Regions from separate parts of the Homo sapiens genome. Here all the other regions are linked to region 1. Evidence: promoter capture Hi-C in 16 types of primary human blood cells and fetal thymus (Javierre and others, 2016). All regions are on one chromosome and are shown on one strand. The core of a region is centred on a gene start or on the middle of the fragment in contact, and the rest is flanking DNA. Distances in the headings are between cores, read along the strand shown. Region 1 holds the start of PLEKHG6 (pleckstrin homology and RhoGEF domain containing G6). Region 2 overlaps VWF (von Willebrand factor). Region 3 has its middle 4.6 kb from the start of VWF. Region 4 overlaps VWF (von Willebrand factor).

Region 1 (4,125 bases), core at 1-2,500:
CTCTCTCACATGTGTGCATATTTGGGGTACAAGCTCCTGCACTGGTCTCAAATGGGAACAAGGGTCACAGACAGGTCTCGGGCTTTCTGGATACACCCAGGTGGGAGGGTTCTCCTTGCACCTAGATATAACCCCATCCCCTTCCCCATATAAAGCTTGGGAAAAAGCTGGAGGGAGGCCATGGTGGGTGGGGTGGGCTGGGAGTGGGGGTGGCTGGAGACAGCCCAGTCTGCCACCAGTTTTTGTACAGCCTGTAAGCCTTTACATATTTACATAGTTGAAACAACTGCTGCCCCCCCTGCAAAAAAGCCACCAATATTTTGGGACAAGTAAATATTACATGATATTCAAATTCAGTGTCCATAAACACAGTTTTGTTGGAATCCATCCTCTTCTGCTGGTCTCCTAATAACCTGTGACTGCTTCTTGCTAGTTGGGACAGACGGTGTAGGCCGCGAAGTCTCTAATCTTTACTGTCTGGCCTTTACTGAAAGGCTTGCCCATCTCCTACCTGAACCCTCCTGACCACAGACAGGGAGGTGAGTGGGGCCAGCTGTCCGGCCACTGCCCTTAGAGACCAGCCAAATAGAATTAGAGTTTCTCCAGTTTCGGGCTATATATTTGGTCCTCCCCAGACTCTGGGAATACCACCATGGAGCTGGGGGCCAGGCGTGGGGCTCCATCCCTCCCCCCTAAACCTGGAGGGAGGGCCCGCCCTCGAGTGGGCAGGGCCTGGAAGAGGAGAGGCCTCCTAAGGGGCGGTGGGCTCAAGAAGGCTGCGCAGGTGTTTGTGCCCCGACCGGGTGGGCCTGAGGTCCTGCCTCAGCCCTCCCTTACCTTCCTCCGATTCAGGAGCAGAGGAGGAAACGTTCGCTGTCCCTCCTGCCGCCTCCCAATAGTCCTCCCTCTGAGGGCGCTGTCTCCCTCGCACTGCTCCCTACCCAGGGTCCTGTCTCAGCCCAGCCCCCGGCTCCCCTCCTCCCGCCTTCGGGAGGCCAGGCCTTCCTTCCCCTTCGCCCCGGCTTCCAGGCCCCGGGTCCCGGCCGCCCCGCCCCCGGGCCGCGTAGCCCTCCCGCCGCTCACCTGTGCCCACAGGTGTCACCGCACCCGCTGCCCTGCGCCGCCCTCCCCGCCCGCGGGGCTCCCCGTCGCCGTCGGCTCCCCGGCGATGCCAGCCAGCCCCGATGCCCAGCCTGGGACTGGGATCGAGCGGCCCGCGGGAGCCGGGCAGCGCGGGTCCGGGCGAGGAGGGCGGGGACCGGGCTGGCCCCTCCCTACCGCCAGCACCGCTCGGGGCAGAGGGGCAGAGGGGCGGGGCCCTGGGGACCGAGCAGCCCCCGCCCTCACGCAGCCACCGCCTTCCCCGGAGAGGACAGCTCACGTGGCGGTGCCCTCCTTTCCCCTTTTCGGTCGCACCTGAACTCGACACCCGCCGGCCGAGCGGGAGGGCTGGGACCGCGCGCCCTCCACTCCGGGCCAGACCCCCGCGAGGCGCTGCAGTAATGAGGGCTGAGTAAGGGGCGGGGCGCCGCCGGGGGAGGCGGCGAGGGTGACAACCTGTGGCAGGCACCCCTCTCTCCTGCTGGTCGCGGCGAGTGGCCGGCCGTCCGGTCCTCCCCCTGCCTCGGCCTAGACCCCTAAGCAGGCAGGGAGCCCGCCTGCCAGCTGGAGGGGCAGGGGGCCCCGTCGCTGTGTGGAGTCCAAAGTGTGAGCCTTATCTCTCAGAGGACCGGCTGGCCTGCCTGGTGGAAGGTGATACTGGAAGGCTATCCTGGACTTTGCCTTTGCTCCAGGGATAGGCAGCTGAGGCCTGACCCGCACTTCTCCTATGACCTAAGACTCAGGTGGGGGCACCCTCCCAGTTCACCTGCAAATAAGCCCACTCCCGGCTACACCAGGGTCACCCAGCCCTTGCGGTGGCTGCTAAAATAGATGCTGTGGGGCCAGGCGCGATGGCTCACGCCTGTAATCCCAACACTTTGGGAGGCCGAGGCGGGCGGATCACAAGGTCGGGAGATGGAGACCAGCCTGGCCAATATGGTGAAACCCCGACTCTACTAAAAATACAAAAATTAGCTGGGCATGGTGACGGGCGCCTGTAGTCCCAGCTACTTGGGAGGCTGAGGCGGGAGAATCGCTTGAACCTGGGAGGTGGAGGTTGCAGTGAGCCAAGACAGCACTACTGCACTCCAGCCTGGGCAACAGAGTGAAACTCCATCTCAAAAAAAAAAAAAAAAAAAAAGAAAGAAAAAGAAAAAGATGCTGTGGAAGGACTGACACATGCTGGGCATTGCATGAAAGGACCATACTTTATTTTCTTTATTTTTAAAATTTATTTTTTAAAAAGAAAATAGAGACAATATCTTGCTGTGTGGCCCAGGATGGACTCCAACTCCTGGGTTCAAGCGATCCTCCTGCTTCGGTTTCCCCACCTTTTCACTTCTCCAAATCATGGCACCTCGTCTGACAGAAGCACTGGATATTTGAGATAGAAGTGTCCTGTGGATGTGTGGTCATTATAATCTCACAACCATGAAACCCAAGACCCTGTAGTTGGCAGGTGGCAGGTCTGAGGCTCCCAGCCCCTCACCCTGACTGTGGTCTATTTCCTGCCAATGAACTCAACAGTGATTGATACGGCTCCTTACTTCTTCAGAGCATCCTGAAGTTCAGGAAACACTTTCAGAAGCAGAATCTCCTTGAGTTGCCAGGGGAAAAGGCCTCTATTCCCTTTTCCCATCTAGGCTATGAAACGCATACATGATCAGAGTGTTCTAGTCCTCACTCGGACTCTGGTGACTCTATTTTGTTTGGAGGAGGAATCTATATCTTTGGGCAGTTTCTAATTTTGTATTCCCTGTGTCCATCCTCAAATCTGCCCTCTGGGATTCTCTTTCTCTGAGCTTGCTGTTGTGTGATTGCTCTGCTGGTTCAGAAGTGTCCTCTGTTCCTCCAGCTCCTTGAACCAGCCTGTCTCCTGCTCCTGGCCCAGCTGGTGGTGGGACTAGTTTTCGGGGGTGAAGTCAGGTGGGAAAGGAACTGCAGTGGCAAGAAACCAGAGTGTGCCTAGTTCCTAGCCCTTCCCTCTTCCCATTCACTGTGTGTGTGTGTGTGTGTGTGTGTGTGTGTGTGTGTGTGTGTGTGTGTGTGTGTGGTGAGAGCTAGACAGAGATAGAGAGATGTCCAGGGATGACAAGAGTAGCCATGAGGGAAAGAGTTAATAAGCCAGGAGAGGAGGTGGTGATTACGGACAGTATTAAATGACACCCCAGAGACAGCTGGTGCCAATGGCCCCTAGCTTCTCCTCCCAGTGTCTCCCAGAAGGAGTGGGAAGGAGGAATAAGAGGGAAGATGAAATTGAGAGAGCACCAAAGACAAGCCTGGGCTTACAGTGCTCTGGGGTGAGCTGGCTAGAGGGGCCCAGTGGCAGGTGGTGGTGGGTGGCGGGGTGGTTAACCCTTTCACTTCCCTCTAGGCGTTGAGGTCCAGTCTCCACCCACTACTGCCCCAGGGCCTGTCTTCAGCCTCCCTGGGAGGAGAGGTTCCCAGGGCAAGCTGGAGTCTAGAAGCCAGAGGTGTGGCCGGGCACAGGTGTGTGGCCTAGGAGGCAGGCCTCCATGTTCTGTTTCTTCTCTTCTGTCACTCTCACAGTCTCCACTTCCATGACTCCTCTGTGCTGCGGAGAGCACACTCCTATGGCAGGCTGAGGGGAGCATTCTCAGGGAGCTGAATGAAATGTAAAGAATTGGGAGGCTGGAGGCTTGGCCTCTGCCAAGTGAGGCTAGGGGCCATCTGGTCCTTGGACCAGAGTATGCCATCTGGATACTTCTCTTTATTCCTGGTTATCCTAGCCTTTCCTCACATGTCTAGCTTGAGTCATATGCCTCACTTTCTCCCAGGTAAGATGCTCCTCATTAGGCCCCTGGATTGACCCCATAACTGATGGTAAAGTGTGTGTCCACGGTCAGAGCTCTGAGGATCAAATGCTTCTGTCCAATAGCAGCCTGAGGATAACTGCCTGGGGTTGGCATAAGGGGCTCACCAGGCAGGAAGGTCAGGGAAACTCATTTGTGCCTCGACCTCTGCTGAGCCCATATCTCTCAGGGCAGAAGTGGGGACCATCTG
Region 2 (4,226 bases), core at 1,562-4,061, 200 kb after region 1:
CTTCTAAAGGTTTGCTTGCTGTAAAAACTGTTCTAGGTGGGAATGCAGAGCAAGGGAGACACCTCAGCTCAAACAGGACAAGTCCCCTTTCATTTGGCAGGCATCTCCATTTTCTCCCAGTTGTGTTGATCTGGAGCTCCGCAGAATGTGGTTTATGGACTGTGAGTGGTCTGTGTGTCTTTCCTGGTGGCTGCTGCTGCTGGCATATCATTAAAACTATTCCTAGAATAGACTTATTATTTACGTGGGAGAGCCCTCACTGAATTTCCACCAGAAACAAGTCTATTCTGTAGCTCATTCGGGTTGGTTTGGAGTGTTTGTGTGTTCCAGGGTGCATGCTTATGTGTGTGCATGGTGTGTGTGCGTGTGGTGTGTGTGTGTGTGTGTGTGTGTGTCTGTGTGTCTGTGTGTGTGGTTGTCCTCCTGCAGCCTCAGTTCAGCCCAGAGCCCTGCTGGGGACTCTTCCTCTCCTGGCTAGGAGTGAGGAGACCTCTGCCCCAGCTCCTCTGGCCATGACAGCAACACCTTGAGTCAACAGACCTGCCAGGTCTTCTGGGCTTCGTTCCACGGACATCTTAGCCTCTTCTTGCCAAGAAGAAGCCCACACTCCCCTATCCCTTCTAGGAGAAGAGAGATTTGCTCATTTTTAAGACCAACTTTACCCCTGAGTCCTATGCCCCATTCCTTCAGGACCTCAAGGCATTGTGCCCCACACGTCAGCTCTTTGTTTTCTCTGGCTGCCCCTATCTTTCCTATTTCCATTAATTTCTCAGTCTCCAAGGCTTGAGACCAGACTCTCTATTTTCCCTTCTGGGTCTTTTGATTCTTATGACCAATTAGTTATCTTTGAATATCAAAGACCCACCACGAGTAGCAGTTCTTAGAAACTAGGTGAGGTTTGCTAAGCTTTGGTCACGCTGTGAAAAATGTCTTGCCTGTGTTTCCTCTTTCATGCTGGCCACCGTCCCATCACCCTTGTCACCCTGTTCAGCCCTCACAACCACACCATTCTCAGAGCCTATTTTATCATGTGTCTGGATCTTCAGACATTTCCATTGTCAACCATTTAGTGTGTCCTTATTAATTCCATGTGCTGTGTAAGGCGTTTGACCCACACGATCTGTAAACTCCTGGATAATCAAATTCAGCAAACTTAGGTGGAGCTCATGAATCTCCATTTTAAACAAACAGCCCAGGGATTCTGACTTGGGCTGTCCTAAGATACCATTTTATTTATTTATTTATTTTTATTTTTTATTTTTTTTGAGACAGAGTCTTGCTCTGTCACCCAGGCTGGAGTGCAGTGGCGCGATCTCCGCTCACTGCAAGCTCCGCCTCCTGGGTTCACGCCGTTCTTCTGCCTCAGCCTCCCAAAGAACTGGGACCACAGACGCCAGCCACCTCGCCTGGCTAATTTTTTTTTTCTTCATATTTTTAGTAGAGACGGGGTTTCACCGTGTTAGCCAGGATGGTCTCGATCTCCTGACCTCGTGATCCACCCGCCTCAGCCTCCCAAAGTGCTGGGATTACAGGCGTGAGCCACCGCACTCGACCGATACCATTTTAAATAGCACTGCTAGGCCAGAGCGGGGTGGCTCATGCCTGTAATTACTCGCACCAAGGAGCTCAAGACCAGCCTGGGCGACACGGTGAGATCTTGTCTCTACAAAAAGAAAAAAAAAATTAGCTGGATGTGGTGGTACATACTTGTGATCCCAGTTACCCTGGAGGCTGAGGTGGGAGGATAACCTGGGCCCAGGAGGCAGAAACTGCAGCGAGCCATGTTCACATCACTGCACCCCAACCTGGGCAACAGAGCACAACCCTGTCTCAATAAGTGAATGAATGAATGAATAAATAACACTCTCCTAGAGCACCTGTTACCAGTAACTCACAGTGTTGCCTTTTTGTTTGCTGCCTTACAATATACTCAATTGTCGCATGTTTGTCTTCTATTTATACGCAGGTTGTAAACTCCCAGAAGCAAAAGATCATGCTTTTAGATTTTTCTTTTGTGATGTTTGAGAGCCTACCTGAGGGCAATGTATCCAGAAGTCACTCAATAATTATTTTTAGATGAATGGAAAAATGGGTGAGAAAATGAGATTTTTAGGGAGATTTTTGTTGCTCGCTTGTAAAGACTTTTTGGGGCGTTTTCTGCTGAGAAAAGGTTACGTAGATAATGATTCTTAATCAATGTATTCATTTTTTGAGAGGAGTAATAATCACTACTATTGACTTTTTTCTCTTTCAGGGGACTTCCAGAATGGCAAGAGAGTGAGCCTCTCCGTGTATCTTGGGGAATTTTTTGACATCCATTTGTTTGTCAATGGTACCGTGACACAGGGGGACCAAAGGTAAGCCAACAATGTCTGAGTTAGAAAGGACCCTAGGGATCCCCTGACACAACCCCCTCATTTTTAGATGAGGAAGCTGGGGCCCAGAGAATGGAAGCAAATGTTCCAAGGAAGTGAGTAGCAGGGCTGGGTGAGAGCCAGCTCTCCCGATTGCTGATCTAGGTCCTCAGCCACTTTGCACCATGTTCTGAACCCTACAACATGGGGTTGGGGTTAGAAGGTGGGAGAGACATCCAGAAAATGCACAAGAAGCCCACTTCTGAACTTAGCCTTTGCCCTCCAGAGTCTCCATGCCCTATGCCTCCAAAGGGCTGTATCTAGAAACTGAGGCTGGGTACTACAAGCTGTCCGGTGAGGCCTATGGCTTTGTGGCCAGGATCGATGGCAGCGGCAACTTTCAAGTCCTGCTGTCAGACAGATACTTCAACAAGACCTGCGGGCTGTGTGGCAACTTTAACATCTTTGCTGAAGATGACTTTATGACCCAAGAAGGTAAGATGTTCTGGGATACCATTTCCCTAAAGTGTGGCCATGCTTTTTATTTCCTTGCTCATAAACCTTCACTAACATGCCTTCCCTGGCATTCAAGCCTCACTGTGACCTCACCTCAATTTATGTTGCCAACCTTATCTCTTTGCATTCCATTCCAATGCCTAGACCTCTAGTGAAACCAGGTCTTAGAGCTCCTCAAAGCTGACTTCGTTCAACTTTGAATTCTCTGTAGCAACTTGCACGTGGCAGATGGTTGGTCAATGCTGGGTAGTTTGAGTCGATCCTCCTCAGCCCACTACAGTGGAGTGGATAAAATCTATGGAGTGGTCGGTCCTCCACACCATCCAAAAAGGCCAGTTTATGTGTGTGTGCATGTGTGTGTTCACGAGCAATAGAAAGTAATATGGATAATGTGAAAACACTAGGCTGGGCGCAGTGGCTTACCCCTGTAATCCCAGCATTTTGGGAGGCCGAGGCAGGCGGATCATGAGGTCAGGAGATTGAGACCATCCTGGCTAACATGGTGAAACCATGTCTCTACTAAAAATACAGAAAATTAGCCAGGCGTGGTGGCGGGTGCCTGTAGTTCCAGCTACTTGGGAGGCTGAGACAGGAGAATGGCGTGAACCCGGGAGGGAGAACTTGCAGTGAGCAGTGATCGTGCCGCTTCACTCCAGCCTGGGCGACAGAGCGAGACTCCGTCTCAAAAAAAAAAGAAAACACTAAAGATGAATATTTCAATCTTCTTTAATTTCAATTACATAAACATTCAATTAGTGATGTTCCCTTGCCAAAGCTAAACACTTACATATGTTATCTTTCTTCCTTATGACCCAACCACTTTCTGATTAGAGAGTAAACATGCAGAGAAACAATTGACTCTTCCTTTCATTGGAATGTACCATATTGGAAAATAGCATGATAGTTTATTTTTTGGTTTTCTCCAGCACTGATTTTATTGTCTGATATGTACATTTAGGGCTATAAATTTCCCTCTAAATATCACTTTAGTTGCACTCTATATATGTGTGTGTGTTTGTGTAAATATGTATATATACTGTATATGTGTGTATATATGTAATTATATATGTGTGTGTATATATATGTATATATATACACGTGTGTGTGTGTGTCTGTGTGTCTCTGTGTGTGTGTATTTAGAGATAAGGTCTTGCTAAGTTGCCCAAACTGATCTTGAACTCTTGGGCTCAAGGAATCCTCTTGCCTCAGCCTTCCTAGTGGAATTATAGGTGTGTGTTACTGTGCCCAGCTGTACCAATTTTGATATGTAACATATTTCATGTTTTAAATTTTCTAACTTCCATTTTGAGCTCTTTCTGAACCTATATACATTTACAAATTCAAAAGTTTGAATTT
Region 3 (4,132 bases), core at 1,009-3,508, 180 kb after region 1:
GGAGTTTAGGATCAGCTTGTCTAATTATATGAAAAACCCTGTTGGATTGAAATTGTATTTAATTTATTGATTAATCTGAGGATATTTGGCATCTTTACAATATTGTGACTTAGTAAATATGAACACAGCATGTCTCTTCATTGGGTTTTCTTTTATGTCTTGGGACAAGATTTATGATTTTCTCTGTAATATTGGACAGTTTTTTTTTTGTTTTTGTTTTTTTGTTTTTTTTTTTTTGAGACAGAGTCTTGCTTTGTTGTCCAGGCATGATCTAGGCTCACTGCAACCTCTGCCTCTCTGGTTCAAACGATTCTCCTGCCTCAGTCTCCCCAATAGATGGGATTACAGGCATGCGCCACCACACCTGGCTAATTTTTTGTATTTTTAGTAGAGACGGGGTTTCACCATGTTGGCAAGGCTGGTCACAAACTCCCGACCTCAAGTGATCCGCCCACCTCGGCCTCCCAAAATGCTGGGATTATATGTGTGAGCCACCACGCCCGGCCTATTCTATTTATTCTTAAGTATCTGCAGTAATTGCTACTTTACTAATAGGGCCACTTCAAAGATTGTATTTTATAACTATATGGGAACATAATAGATTTTAAAAAGGAATCTTGCGGCAAACTTCTAAACTCTTAGGTAGATTCTTTTGAATTTTTCTATGTACACATTCATATCTTCAAATAATAACTATTTTGCTTTTTCCTAAGCTCCATACCTCATATTTTCTCTTCTTCTCTTACTTTGCTGGCCTGGGCATCTGATCCAATATTGACTAGCAGTGATGACATTGAACATGCTTGTCGGCCGGGTGCGGTGGCCAACGCCTGTAATCCCAGCACTTTGGAAGGCTGAGGCGGGTGGATCACGAGGTCAGGAGATCGAGACCATCCTGGCTAACACGGTGAAACCCCGTCTCTACTAAAAATACAAAAAAATTAGCCGGGCGTAGTGGCAGGCACCTGTAGTCCCAGCTACTCAGGAGGCTGAGGCAGGAGAATGGCATGAACCTGGGAGACGGAAATTGCAGTGAGCCGAGATCGCACCACTGCACTCCAGCCTGGCTACAGAGCGAGACTCAGTCTCAAAAAAAAAAAAAAAAAAAAAAAAAAAAGAACATGCTTGCATGTTCAAGTAATTATCCTGCGTCACCCTCCCTAGAAGCTGGGACTACAGGCGCGCGCCAGCGGCATGCCCAGCTAATTTTTGTATTTTTAGTAGAGACGGGGTTTCACCATGTTGGCCAGGATGGTCTAAATCTCTTGACCTCGTGATCCACAGGCCTCGGCCTCCCAAAACGCTGGGATTACAGGCGTGAGCCACCGCGCCCGGCCTTGTTCTGGTTTTTAAAGGGAAAGTGGCTTCCATTTTACCATAAGTATGAAATATGCTCTGTGTCTCAGGCCAAGGACCTTCCCTTCTTTTTATAGGTTACTTAAGTGTTTTGTTTACTTGTTTTCCATAACTGGGTGTTGTTGACTTTTACAAAACTGAAAGCTTTTCTGCTTTATAATTTAATCGTTTTTAAAAATAAATTTTAAGCTTATATTATGAAGTGCACATAAATCTATAGATTCCATCTTCCTGGTGCATTGATCTTTGTATCACCTTTTTCTACTCTTTGGTGCTAATGATGACTTTGATCTTAAGGTCCACTGTGTGTGATAGTGGTATAAAACGCTTTTCCTTGGCCATCACTTGCCTCTCCTTTCTTTTCCTTACGGTCTTTGTGTGTTTATATTTTAGGACTGTCTCTTGAACATTGCTGGATTGTGTGCCTTTTTAAAGAAATCCAATTTGATAATCTCTACCTTTTTATTATTGATTATTGATCTGTTTGAATTTTTTGTACTGTTGCATTTACATTTTATACTATTTGTCTTGCTTTTTCCATTTTTCTCCTAGATCAATCTAGTTTTTAAAAATTTCTTGTTTTTTTTCGATAGGTTTGGAAAACATACATTCAATTCTATTCTTTCAGTAGCCTCCCTTAAAATCTTACTATGCAGTATAGCCTTAACTAAGTCTAAAGTGATCATGACCTGTTTCTTCCTTCTGAGCCATGCAAGGACCTTAATACACTTTCACTCCTGTCTTACATGTCATTGCTATCTGGTATTTTGGTTCTAATTTTTAATAACTCTCCAACTTATCATTACCATTGTTATTGTTTTATATAATGACTGCCTGCTCATATTTACCCCCAGATTTACTATTTTATTTATTTACCTTTTCTTGGCATCCTGTTTCTAGGCTGAATTTTCTTCTTCCTGGCAGGGCGAGGTGGCTCACACCTGTAATCCCAGCACTTTGAGAGGCCGAAGCAGGAAGACTGCTTGAGCCCAGGAGCTCTAGGAGTTTGAGACCAGCCTAGGTAACATGGCAAAACCCTGTCTCTACAAAAAAATACAAAAATTAGCCAGGTATGGTGGTACATGCCCATAGTCCCAGCTACTAGGGAGGCTGAGGTGGGAGGATCGCTTGAGCCCAGAAGGTTTAGGCTGCAGTGAGTTGTGACTGTGTCACTGCGCTCCACCCTGGGTGACAGAGACCCTGTCTCAGAAACAATAACAAAAAATGTTTTTTCTCCCTGAAATTCCTTCTTTAGTAGTTTCTTCAGAAAGGACTGTTAATGTTAAGCCCACTCTGTTTTTCCAAAAAAAAAAAAAAAAAAAAAGTCTATGTTTCCTCAACTCTGAACAATAATTTACAGGTAGACCAGATGTTACAGTCCCTCTGCCACGGCCCTCTAACCCCATCTCTCCGTTTCTTCTAGACTACCAGTGTCTGCTCCTCCGTGCCTGAGGGCCAGAAGTGTTGAGGGCTGAATGCCTCCTGAAGCAGCCTTGACAATAACTGACAGGAAGGAGTAAGTGTAGAAACTCTCCTGCTCCCTGACCCAAGAGTGGGAAGATTCAGAGGCATGGATCTTACATTTTCCCAGACTTCCCTCCAGAAGGAAGCTTTCTTGTCCACTTGGTGGCTGGCATAATAAACATCTTTTATTGACTGCTTTCCCTGCCCCGTATCACATTCCCACTTCCCTGCCGATGCTTCCTGTCCTCCCAAATCAATTATCTACACTAAAATACTCAGGGTCTGCTTCTGGGACTTCAAACTAAGACACTGCATATAGAATTCTCCACAAATGGACTTCTTCTCTCAGCACTTCTCTTTGGATCTTCTAATTCTATCATGTTTCTTAATTCTGCCTCCATTTTTTTTTTTTTTTTTTTTTTTTTTTGAGATGGAGTCTCACTCTGTCACCCAGGCCAAAGTGCAGTGGTGTGATCTTGGCTCACTGCAACCTCTGCCTCCTGGGTTCAAGCAATCCTCCTGCCCCAGCCTCTTGAATAGCTGGAATTACAGGCATGCACCACCATGCAAGGCTAATAGTTGTATTTTTAGTAGAGATGGGATTTCAACACGTTGGCCAGGCTGGTCTCGAACTCCTGACCACAAGTGATCTGCCTTACTTGGGCTCCCAAAGTGCTGGGATTACAGGCATAAGCCACTGTGCCTGGCTGCTCTTCCATTTTTTCATCTCTATATTTGAGTGATTTCTTTAGAACCATTTTTCAGCTTTTTTTTTCCCAAAAATATCTGGTGTTTTTGAATTTTTCAATTAATTTACTATATACATTTCTTAAAGTTCTTTTTTTTTTTTTTTGGGACAGTATCTCACTCTATTGGCTAGGCTGGAGTGCGCGATTATGGCTCACTGCAACCTCAACCTCCTGGGCTCAAGGGGTCCTCCCTCCTACCTCAGCCTCCTGAGTAGCTGTGACCACAGGCATGCACCGCCAGGCCCAGCTAATTTTTTATTTTTATTTTTTGTAGAGATGGGGTCTTGCTGTGTTGTGTAGGCTAGTCTCAAATTACTGAGCACAGACAATCCTCTTGCCTCTGCCTCCCAAAGTGTTAGGATTACAGGTGTGAGCCTCCACGTCTGGCCTTAAAGTTCTTTTTCAAGTTTTCCTCCTGTTCTTTCTTTTTTTTTTTTTTTTAACGGACTCTCACTCGGTCACCAGGCTGGAGTGCTGTGGCATGATCTTGGCTCACTGCAGCCTCCGCTTCCCGGGTTCAAGCGATTCTCCTGCCTCAGCCTCCAGAGTAGCTGGGACTACAG
Region 4 (4,424 bases), core at 1,436-3,935, 220 kb after region 1:
AAAGAAAGACCCTTAGATCACTTTAAAAAAATTCGATCAGACTGGGGAAGGCCAGCAAGGACTGAACCTTACAAAGGGATCTTGGCTTTGTCCTGTAGTCCTGTCTGCAACAGGAAGCCCAAGGCTCCGGGGGGCTGGGCTTGGGCTGCATCCAGCTCATAGCATGCTTTTGCTAATTAGAAAAAGGCACCCCTTTCTCTCTCTCTCTCTCGCTTTTTTTTTTTTTTTAGACAGAGTCTCGCTCTGTCGCCCAGGCTGGAGTGCAGTAGTGCGATCTTGGCTCACTGCAAGCTCCGCCTCCCGGGTTCACGCCATTCTCCCGCCTCAGCCTCCCGAGTAGCTGGGACTACATGCGCCTGTCACCACGCCCAGTTAATTCTTTATATTTTTTAGTAGAGACGGGTTTTCACCGTGTTAGCCAGGATGGTCTCGATCTCCTGATCTCATGATCTGCCCGCCTCGGCCTCCGAAAGTGTTGGGATTACAGGCGTGAGCCACCGCGCCCGGCCAAAGGCACCCCTTTCTCAAGAAACTTCACCACCACCTGCCGGGAAACGGCCAAGATAAACATAATAACTGAACATATAATGTACATGTATATACCTCTACAATGTCTACCATATGAACAGTAGTCACTTGGTGTGTTGCCACTGTGTGGACTGTGTGGCTTGCATCATGACATGTGATGGTGTTGGCCTGGCTTCCTCAGGGAGGCACAGTCTCTGTGACCATCATCTCCTCGCTCAGGATCACCTCCTCAAGGCGATCAGTCTCTATTGAGAAACTGAGTGCACCAGTTACCACTCTACCTACCGTAGAGTGGTGAATCATTCAGCAGCAGCAGCAACCTCCGACAGCTGTCTGAAGTGGAAGAAATTTCTTTTCATCAATGTTAGGAATCTTAGGCTCATAAGAACTCAGAGTTGGTTGAGAATCTAGCAGATATCTACTTCAACCCCCTACCTGCCGCATGAATGCTCTCCACAAACTGTGTCTGGGTAGACAGGTTATGCTGTGACCTTGACTGTAAGAGTTAAATCTTGGCCAGGCGCGGGGGCTCAGCCTGTAATCCCGGCACTTTGGGAGGCCGAGGCGGGCGGATCACGAGGTCAGGAGGTCGAGACCATCCTGGCTAACACAGTGAAGCCCCGTCTCTACTAACAATACAAAAAAAAAAAAATTAGCCGGGCGTGGTGGCGGGCGCCTGTAGTCCCAGCTACTCGGGAGGCTGAAGCAGGAGAATGGCGTGAACCCGGGAGGCGAAGCTTGCAGTGAGCCGAGATCGCACCACTGCACTCCAGCCTGGGCGACAGGGTGAGACTCTGTCTCAAAAAAAAAAAAAAAAAAAAAAGAGTTAAGTCTTTGAGACACCCTTGCTGGGCGCTTCCCAGCCATCTTGCAGACCTCAGCCCTAGGCAGCCCTCCTTTACTCCCTGGTAAATTCCTTCTTTCATTGTATGCCCGTTCGAAGCTAAAGCCCTGTCCTTCCGTGTCCCTGAATACTGGAGAAGCAGGTGCTTTGGGTCTGGTTTCTCCTGGTCTGGCTCAGGAGCTCACATCAATTGCAGTCCTGTCAGTCACTGAATAGCCTCAGATTTCCTGTTTTCCACTGGTCTCTGAATTTGGTGTTTATTAGGTGAACACAAGCCTTATTTTCTTTGGCCATTCATGTCTTCACATTCTCTCGCGTCCTCCATTATCTTGTAGAACTCTTTCCGCCTCCTCTGAAACAGCATGCAGTTCACCTGTGATTCCTCTTCCTCCCAGAAAATCACCTGTCCTGCTTGAGCTAACATTTTAAACAGTCATGTTGACTTTGAATAATCACAGCATGCCTCCTCAGTAGCCCAAAGAGGCACAGAAAATACCCATTCCGTTAGAGACAAAGCAGTTCACTCTTCATGTTCTCATTAAATATTGCTCAAGCCTTTTATTTGCAAAGGACCTACCAGCCCTTTCTGCTATTTCTGCTCATGGTGACTCTGAAAGGGAAATTCACAGGCATGGAGGGAGGCAATGTAAGCCCAGCGGACTTGGGTCTCACTGTCTAGGCCCACTTCTGCCTTCCCTCCTTCTTCTCCTTGCCTCTTCCATTCACTTAATTGGCAGTTTTGGTCTGGAATGGACTTTTCTTGGAGACTGGGAAGAATTTTGTTACATTTGTTTGCTTGGTAGCATAGTTGTGATTCATAGAGTACAGTTGTCAGGGGAGAGCCTGGCCCAGAGAAGGTCAGTAGATCTCAAGGAAGGACCCTTGGAATGCAGGATCCCAGAGAAGTTAGTTGTCAGATGATGGCCCTGGTTTTAGAGTTGGGGTGCCCACCCACTATGCCCCAGTGACACCAAGCTCAGAGCTGGGGTTTGCAATAAGTACACACGTGTCTTTCCCCGTTTTGATGAGAACTGCTCTCTCAAGTCTCTCTTTCTTGAGTCATTGATAGGCTAAGGAATGAGGACTTATTTCAAGTGCTTTAGTGAGGTCCAAGAATCCAGGGGGCAGTCCCTGGTTTGGCCCAATTCTCTGCATGTCCTCGTGTAAGTTACTTTCCTACTCTGCCTCTCAGTCTTCCCTCTCTGAGGTAAACAGAGCTCCACGGAACCCCCCATGGATAGGCACCCTTTCTTTACAGCAGACTGGCTCACCTGAGTGCAGGATGGGAGAAGGGCAGGGAGCCAATGGTTGTGGTGAAACAGTGGTGACCTTGGCCACTGTTCCCTTGGGGGTCTAGCCTCATGGCAGAGGTCAGTGGCTACCATGGGGTTTTGCAGATTTCCCTTGAACTTGGCCTTTAAAAATTTTTTTTTAAAATTTTACTTTAAGTTCTGGGATACATGTGCTGAACGTGCAGGTTTGTTACATAGGCATACATGTGCCATGGTAGTTTGCTGCACCTATCAACCCATCATTTAGGTTTTAAGCCCCACATGCATTAGGTGTTTGTCCTAATGCTCGCTCTCTCCTTGCCCCCGCCCCCCGCGCCCCCCCTCCCCGCCCACAGGCCGTGGTGTGTGATGTTCCCCTCCCTGTGTCCATGTGTTCTCATTGGAACTTGGCTTTTTATGTTGCTCATTTGACAAGCCCTTGAGGAGAGTTGGATAAGGACCTAGCACCCAAGCATTCAATTCAAAGGCCTCCCTAACATAATGTTCCCAAAATCCTTTAACGAACTATTTCTCAGGTGGGTTCCTTTCCCTTTTCCTTTTCCCTGGTGAGCAACAGAATGGACAAGAATCTGATGGTGCCCATAAGTGCATATTCACTGAGATGTTTCATATGGCTTGCGTGATACAACGTAGACTAAGGGACAAGACACGTAAGAGAAATTAAACCATGAAAGACTGTCTGGGGTTAGTAAATGACAAATCGCCAAGTGAATGGTAAGTGATAGCGCAGCTTAGGGGAATTAGCTCCTGTCACAGAGCTGATGCTTTTTTCTTGCTGGGAGCAGGATGGGTGAGTGATTCAGAAAGGGCTGCTTTCCATCCCCAGAGCTTGGTAGGCCCTAGACTGGGAACCAGGGAATGGTGCCCCGTCCTTGTCCATCCAGCCAGCATGCCCTAATCCCTAGAAGCTGCTCAGATGCCTCCAGGAGCCCCAAGGAGAAGGTGAGGAGGGTCCCTTAGAGAGGTCCATGGCCAAGTCTCCTACTTCTCATGAGCACTGGACCCCAGCTATCTTAGAGAGAGGAATGTCAAGCTCTGCAGAAACCATCCATTTGGTGGAAATCTATCAACAGGTTTCACCAGGTCCTTGTGAGTCAGAATCTTGGAATGCGGGTGGGAATCTTGGGCCGGCCAGAAGTTATAAATAGAATCAGCTACCCTCCCCCACCCATCATTACAGCTGACCAATGAGAAAGTATTCCCTGCTGCAGGGTGAATTCTTGAACCCACTACTTTGGAGCAGCTCAGACTCCAGGCGCCTCCATACCTACCAGGGGCTGCTGCAGGGCACCCATCCCAGAGCTAGAAAGATCAGGGCTTGTGGAACAATATTGCACTCTATGTATTAGACTTTCCTTTCTTTGTTCACTCAGTCCTAGGAATGTCCCCCTCCCTTCTCCTTTGTCAGCTGCTTGGGAGCAAACACAATAGCTAAGCTTCAGATCTCTGGCTCTGCTTTCTCTCCTCCTGCTGCCTGCCACTGAGATGTGCTTGCTTTCCCTCCTCCTCCCCTGCACCCGCCTGATGTCTCCAGGGAAGATGCCTGGTCTTCTTTAATGAACTGGAAATGTGATTAAGATGGGCCACAATTGGGCCTGCACACCAACCCAGGCATGGTGAGGTCATGGCTGGATGGGCTGGGGCAGCTGCTCTCCCGCAGCTCCTGGCACGGCCGACAGGAGTTGAAAGAAGACAGGAGTAGCTGATGCAGGGCCTTGGAGCCAGGGAGATGCTGGAAGTGTGCAAATTAGCTGGCCCTT

The links. Contacts are between HindIII fragments. The CHiCAGO score rates a contact against its expected background, and 5 or more counts as called.
Region 2: a contact is called between a fragment that was not itself captured here and the fragment with the promoter of PLEKHG6 in region 1, in 3 of 17 cell types (monocytes, neutrophils and naive CD4 T cells). The highest score is 8.4, in monocytes.
Region 3: a contact is called between a fragment that was not itself captured here and the fragment with the promoter of PLEKHG6 in region 1, in 7 of 17 cell types (monocytes, naive CD4 T cells, neutrophils and 4 more). The highest score is 8.7, in monocytes.
Region 4: a fragment that was not itself captured here is called in contact with the fragment with the promoter of PLEKHG6 in region 1 in 2 of 17 cell types (monocytes and M1 macrophages); the score reaches 6.2 in monocytes.

Annotation. Positions count from the first base shown.
Region 1 is chr12:6,307,807-6,311,931 of GRCh38, reverse strand. It overlaps PLEKHG6 (pleckstrin homology and RhoGEF domain containing G6), which reads right to left and starts at 1,250. Exons shown (of 16, transcript NM_001384598.1): 1 at 1,084-1,250. RefSeq lists a silencer at 1,304-1,353 and an enhancer at 1,716-2,436. The HindIII fragment of the contact is 5,964 bases long and covers 158-4,125 here.
Region 2 is chr12:6,108,997-6,113,222 of GRCh38, reverse strand. VWF (von Willebrand factor) reads left to right here. Exons shown (of 52, transcript NM_000552.5): 4 at 2,255-2,357; 5 at 2,641-2,849. Among named protein-coding and RNA genes, the nearest start is that of VWF, 14 kb to the left of the region's middle. The HindIII fragment of the contact is 3,806 bases long and covers 909-4,226 here.
Region 3 is chr12:6,127,249-6,131,380 of GRCh38, reverse strand. No RefSeq gene overlaps it. Among named protein-coding and RNA genes, the nearest start is that of VWF, 4.6 kb to the right of the region's middle. The HindIII fragment of the contact is 1,421 bases long and covers 1,548-2,968 here.
Region 4 is chr12:6,084,282-6,088,705 of GRCh38, reverse strand. All of the region lies in intron 6 of VWF (von Willebrand factor), which reads left to right. Among named protein-coding and RNA genes, the nearest start is that of VWF, 38 kb to the left of the region's middle. RefSeq lists an enhancer at 4,373-4,424. The HindIII fragment of the contact is 2,835 bases long and covers 1,268-4,102 here.